2 separate regions of the Homo sapiens genome follow, and region 2 is linked to region 1. Evidence: promoter capture Hi-C in human tissues and cell types (Jung and others, 2019). All regions are on one chromosome and are shown on one strand. The core of a region is centred on a gene start or on the middle of the fragment in contact, and the rest is flanking DNA. Distances in the headings are between cores, read along the strand shown. Region 1 holds the start of MYL10 (myosin light chain 10). Region 2 has its middle 70 kb from the start of CUX1.

Region 1 (3,348 bases), core at 313-2,812:
GCCCGGTGTGATTCACCAGCGCCGCTTCCCCTCCTCCGGGCAGGCGGGGGGGCTCTCCGCTTGCTCAGGCCTGTCCCCGGCCTTTGGGAGCCCCTGCCACGGTCCTGGGCGTGCTCCCCGGAGGCAAGAGCCCTTGCTTGCAGAGGCCTCAGGGCAGCAGGAAGCCAGAGGCAGGAAGCAGGAGTTATAGGTCTGCTACCCACTCTGTAAGCCCAGAGCCAGGAGGCCCCAGGGCCAGGCTCACAGACCGGGCATGGAAAGCCTGCACCCTAGCCACTGTCGCGGTCACACAGGCCCCCTTCTGTAGCAGGTCCAGGCGGCTGGGACTGGAATCCAGGCTCCCGTCCCCAGAGCTGGGTTCTCCTTTCCGCCTGGCTTGTTGAACACCTGTGGAACGTGTGGTTTTTCTCCCCGGAGAGGAACGCCAGGACACCAGGAGAGCAGCCCTGTCGGGGAAACTGAGGCACACGGTTTCCTGCTGCAGAAAGCGGGCTGCACAGCATCATGGCTGGACCTGGCCCCAGCTCTGGGAGGAGCACTCAGTCACAGGAGTTTAGGGACATCAGAAATAGCTGTAGTCAGGGATGACTGGGAGGGAGCAGGAGGAGGGGAGAGTTTGGATGAGCAGAACCTTTTGGAAGCTTCCTTCTGGAAACACTAGAAAGAGGGGCTCTTGTCCTGGCCCTCCCTCTCTCTCTCTCTTTTTTTTTTTTTTTTTTTTTGTTTTAGAAATGAGACCTTGATCTGTTGTCCAGGCTGGAGTGCAGTGGTGCAATCACAGCTCATTGAAGCCTCAACCTCCTGGGCTCATGTGATCCTCCCACCTCAGCCTCCTAAGTAGCTGGGCCTGCAGGCATGTGCCACTGATACAGGAGGGGGGACAGGGAAGTGCTGAGAGGAGAAAGGCAGGGTCCCTGGCAAGGGCTCCACCCTTGGGCCTGTGCCCACGGACCTAGGTGAGGACAGGCACTCCTGTTTATATGCCCAAATGTCACATTTTCCAAGACCACCCTGGCCCACCACGCCCCCCGCCCCCCCGCCCATCCTGTGCCTATGAAAACCCTGAGACCCCAGTGGGTACACACACAGGTGGCTGGACATCAAGAGGAGCAGAGGATCGGAAGAGCACACCGACAGCACTGGCAGATGCTGGCAGGCCATCGACTGGCTGAATAACACAAATGCCCAGGGGAATTTGGCTGGGGATGGTCAGAGGAGAGTCTGGCTGCTGAGCACCTTGACTTCAGGGGAAAAATCACCTTCCCACTCCATCCCCCTTCTGGCTCCCCATCATCTGCTGAGAGCTACTTCCACCACTCAATAAAACCTCGCACTCATTCTCCAAGCCCACATGTGATTCAATTTTCACAGTACACCAAGGCAAGAACCCCAGGATACAAAAAGCCCTTTGTCCTTGCAATAAGGCAGAGGGTCTAACTGAGCTGATGAACACAAGCCACCTACAGATGGCAAAAGTAAAAGAGCATCCTGTAACACACGCCCACTGGGGCTTCAGGAGCTGTAAGCATCCACCCCTAGACACTGCCGTGGGGTCGGAGCCCCATAGCCTGCCTGTCTGCATGGTCCGCCTAGAGGTTTGAGCAGCTGGGCATGGAAGAAGCGAGCCACACCCCCATCGCATGCCCTATGAACGGGATAAGGGAACTTTTTCACTTCACCACTATGCCTGACTAATTTTTTAATTAAAAAAAATTTTTTTGTAGAAACAGAGTTTCACCATGTTGCTTAGGCTGGTCTCAAACTCCTGGCCTCAAGTGATCCTCCCTCCTCGGCCTCCCAAAGTGCTGGGATTACAGGTATGAGCCACTGTGCCTGGCCTCTGGCCCCACTTCTTATCTGCCTTGGGTGAGTGACTTAACCCATGCGTGCCTCAGTTTCCTCATCTGGAAAATGGGATATGGATTGAATGTGAGGACACGTGTTTTAAGACATGGCCTGACCTTCTGTGTTGTATATTAGCTGCTCTTCTTATTATTATTATGATATTCCCTTCCCCAAAGGCAGGGGATCAGCTGTACCCGGGGCTGAAGGCCTGAGGCCAGCTCCAGGGACAGTTAAGCTCTCCAGCCCCTGGGGACCCGTGGGCTCACTGCCTGAACCCAGCACTGCCGGCCCTGGCAGCTGTTCAGATATGGCGGGCCCCAGATGGACAGTGGCAGCCTCTGAGGCCGAGCTGGGGCTGCTGGGGCTGCACTAGACACAGGAGGGGCTTTCCAGGGCAGGTGTGGGCTCTGTTTGGCAGATCTACTAGAGAATTCTTGGGCTGGGCCAGGCCTGGTGGGGATGGATGTGTGTGTGTGAGGCCAGGGTGGAATGGAGGTCTCATTTTTCAGTTCTTCCTCATCAGAGTCACCTCCAGTTTTCTGTTTTCTTTTTTTTAAGAGACAATATCTCACTCTGTCGCCCAGGCTGGAGTGCAGTGGCACAATCATAGATCACTGCAGCCTCAAACTCCTGGACTCAAGCAATCCTCCTGCCTCAGCCTCCTGAGTAGGTGGGACTACAAGAGCACACCACCATGCTCGGCTAATTTTTTTGATATTTTGTAGAGATAGGGGTCTCACTATGTTGCCCAGGCTGGTCTTGAACTCCTGGCCTGAAGCGATCCTTCCCTCTTGGCCTCCGAAAGCTCTGGGATTACAGGCGTGAGCCACTGCGCCCACCCCATTTTTCTTTTATTTGTCCTGTTGCTTTCTCTGTTCATTGAGCATTTCAGTGCCCTGAGGGGGTCCCCTGGCCTGGGGGTGCTTAATGGACACCCTGATAATAGGCATATTGGTAGAAGGGGCCCCCGAGGGCCAGGTTGGTGCAGAAACTCTCTCCATAAGCAGACCGGGGGTTTCATACACTCCCCCCTATTCCTATGAGATGGCTGAGCCTCCTAGAGGGTGATGTCCCACCCAGAGTCCCACAGCTCCAGAGGTCCGGCCACACTGCAGTCTGAGTGGGTCCCAGCCAGCATGGGTGGCCCCACCCTGGGCAACACTCCCTGACGGCTCAAGGCCAAGTCTTCCCATTGGGGTAGGCAGCCTCAACTTACTCTGTGTCCTTGGCCAAATGCCCCTTCCTGGGTCTTGGTCCCTTGGCTCTAGAGAAAACAGTTGGCCCAGGGCTCTCGGAGATCCTGGAGGCTTAGGCAGTCCCTGCGTCCGTGGTATTTGCCCACGGATTCCCCCCAACCCTATCCACTCTGAATGGCCCAAGGCAGGTGCCTGGCAGGGAGGTCTCCGTCCTGTCATGGATCACCTTCCACACTGGGCCCGGTGCATGCCAGGGGCCCTGGGAGGACCACTATTTAAGGGCCATCTCTGAGCTATCCCCAGGCCA
Region 2 (3,348 bases), core at 610-3,109, 120 kb before region 1:
TGTGCCAGTTAAATCTCATTCTGTCTGCTAGTATGGCTACTTCTCAATATTTAGGAGAAATTTCTGTTTTGTTTCTCCAGCTCTATTTTAAACCTCAAGTTTCAAATCGAACTGCTGTCTCGGTGCCAGCCGCTAACAGGCAGCGACAAGGATAGAGAACTGTACACACTCAACAATCCCTTGGCTGAGCACAGTGGTTCCCGCCTGTAATCCCAGCACTTTGGGAGGCTAAGGCGGGAAGATCACCTGAGGTCTACCTGGCCAACATGGTGAAACCCCATCTCTATTTTTTTTTTTGAGACAGAGTCTCGCTCTGTCGCCCAGGCTGGAGTGCAGTGGCGCGATATCGGCTCACTGCAAGCTCTGCCTCCCTGGTTCACGCCATTCTTCTGCCTCAGCCTCCCGAGTAGCTGGGACTGCAGGCACCCGCCACCACACCCAGCTAATATTTTTTTGTATTTTTAGTAGAGACAGGGTTTCATCATGTTAGCCAGGATGGTCTTGATCTCCTGACCTCGTGATCCACCCACCTCGGCCTCCCAAAGTGCTGGGATTACAGGCATGAGCCACTGTGCCCAGCCCCCCATCTCTATTAAATATACAAAAAAAAAAAAAAAAAAAAATAGCCAGGCATGGTGGTGGGCACCTGTAATCCCAGCTACTTGGGAGGCTGAGGAGGAGAATCGCTCGAACCCGGGAGGCGGATGTTGCAGTGAGCTGAGATCGCGAGACTGCACTCCAGCCTGGGCAACAAGAGCAAAAATCCGTTTCAAAAAAAAAAAAAAAAAAAAAAAAAACCAATTCCTTGCTATGGCTTTCCAGAGTCAGGGTGAAGTTCCAGAGACCCAGGCACCTGGGCTGGAACCCCAGCCGTGCCAGGTACCCCTGGTGATCTAGGGCACATCCATTTGCCCTCCCCCCACCCGAGCCTCAGTTTCCCCATCTGTAAAGCAAAGGCAATGCATTCCTTCACTTTCTAGTTCTCAGGGGTTGCTGTGGGTGGTGAGACAGGGCCCACGAAGGTTTGCGGTGCGGGGTGGGACGCAGTAGGACCCTCATGGGGTGACTGGTGAGTACAATTGGCCATCCTTTCTCTCCAGCCTCCGTGGGGAGGTCGCCTTGACTCGCAGACTTGGCTTTGCTCCATCTGTGCACGGCTCTCTTCCCTGGAGCCTGAGTGGAATGTTTTCTCTTCCCTCCTCCTCCTCCTCCTCCTCCTCTTCCTGTGACCGTCTGTGGGATGCCTCCAGTGTCCTGGGGTCCCCCGGAGGCGGCCCGAACCCTCTCCCCGCCCAGCGCGGCCCCTCGGCCCACCAGGCTGTTTCCAATTTGAACACCATGCATCTTGTCTCTGAGATCACAGCCGCCTCTTTGATGGAACTAATGATGATCTAGGACTTTGGGGGCCCCAGACCTCCCCAAACTGAGATAAATCCTGCCTCTGTGCAGACAAGGGGCCTCCAGCCCGGCATCTGATCCCCCTCCTCCGGGCTGGACAGGGAGGGGAGGTGTCTGTGGGAGTCCCCTCCCGGCAGGCTGGGAGGGTGGTGGCTGAGTCCAGGGAGACAGGAAGAAAGGGATTTCTCTGAGGCTCCAAAGAGGGTCCCACAACCCGGTGGGGGAGGGTGGCAAGCTTGTGAAAGGGCCTCTTAGAAGGCGGTCTGATCCCATCACAACCCAGGACACAGCTGGAGCAGAAGGCAACTTACACAGGCCAGCCTGCTTCTCAGACTCAGTGCCACTAACTGTTCCTGGCACCTTGCTTGCACCGCTGGGGACGCAGGGAGGAATGACTCTAGTTTCTGCCGCCAGGAGCTCGTGATGAGGGAGAGGGATGGGTAAACCAATGACTCCAATATTGCGTATTGAGGACTGCAATGGTGAGGACCCCAGGGGCTGTGGGAGCACGGCAGATAGGACCTGACGCAGCCTGTAGAGCCTGGAAGGCTTCCTGGAGGAGGTAGCCCTGATCTGGGTCTTGCGCAGGTCCCACAATGAGCAGATGATGTGCCCTGTCCATACAGAATAAACAATAAAAAATGATACTAAACCCTATCAAGCTTGCCCAACCTGCCTTGTTTGGCTGTTGTTGTTCTGTTCTGTTTTAGGCTTTTAGCAGCCTGAAACCATGGTTTTTAGTTTCTGTCTCTAGTGACAAGCGGAAAAGAGGGATGAGGAAGGGGATTTACTGACCCAACCAGAAACAGAAACTAAGAGCCTGTGACTGTATTCTCTCCCTTGGACACCCCTGAAACCATGAAACTTACACATATGCTGAAATTAAAATACCTTCTTTCTAGATTTTCTGATCGGAAAATTTTGGATCCGTTCATCAAAGAAGCTTTATTTTATTATTATTATTATTAATTTTTGAGACTGAATCATGGTCTGTTGCACAGGCTGGAGTGCAGTGGTACGATCTCAGCTCACTGCAACCTCTGCTTCCCAGGTTCAAGTGATTCTCCTGCCTCAAGCTCCCGAGTGGCTGGGATTACAGGTGCCCGCCACCAGGCCTGGCTAATTTTTGTATTTTTAGTAGAGACAGGGTTTTACCACGTTGGCCATGCTGGTCTCGAATTCCTGACCTCAGGTGATCTGCCCTCCTCAGCCTCCCAAAGTGCTGGGATGACAGGCATGAGCCACCACACCCAGTCTATTATTATTAATATTTAGAGATGGGATCTCTGTCAACCAGGCTGGAGTGCAGCAGTGTGTGATCATAGCTCACTGCAGCCTCGAACTCCTGGCCTTAAGCGATCCTCCTGCTTCAGCCTCCCAAAGTGCTGGGATTTTAGGTGCATGCCACCATGCACTTAGCCCATTTTAAGTTTTTAAAGAAATGTGAGTTGGACTCTGGTGAGCAGCAGAAGGTGGAGGAAGAGGAAGTGAAAGGTGAAGGAGGCAGAGGAGGAGCATTGAGTGCTGGGAAGGAGGAGGCACTGGCTGGGGGCTTGCCCTGTCTAAGGAGGGGCGTCCTCCAGGAAAATCAGACTGTTCTGTCATTCATGATCTGTCCTCCAACCTCTAGGAGCATCGCCCCCACCCCTTCCATAGCCGGGGGCCTGGCTCAGAAGCACAAGGTGCTCAGAGATACCAGTGAACCCCAGGGTAACAGTCGGAGTGGGCTTCCTGGAAGGGTCTGGAAGGACACTGACTTATCACCTCATAGCGGCTCCTCACTCTTCACAAGATAAAACTAGACTTTAGAGGGCAACTGTGGTGTGGCTCACACCTGTAATCCCAGCACTTTGGGAGGCCGAGGGCCTCTTGAGGCCAGGAGTCCAGGACCAGCCTGGGCAAACATAGTGAGAACCCATCTCTAAAAAACAATTTAAAAATGAGCCAGGC

Evidence for each region. Contacts are between HindIII fragments. The study calls those that stand out against the background at their distance.
Region 2: a fragment that was not itself captured here is called in contact with the fragment with the promoter of MYL10 in region 1 in 2 of the 25 tissues and cell types used here (lymphoblastoid cells and spleen).

The regions. Positions count from the first base shown.
Region 1 is chr7:101,627,510-101,630,857 of GRCh38, reverse strand. It overlaps MYL10 (myosin light chain 10), which reads left to right and starts at 1,562. Exons shown (of 8, transcript NM_138403.5): 1 at 1,562-1,817. The coding sequence starts at 1,740. The HindIII fragment of the contact is 21,528 bases long and covers 187-3,348 here.
Region 2 is chr7:101,746,061-101,749,408 of GRCh38, reverse strand. No RefSeq gene overlaps it. Among named protein-coding and RNA genes, the nearest start is that of CUX1, 70 kb to the left of the region's middle. The HindIII fragment of the contact is 5,608 bases long and covers 1-3,348 here.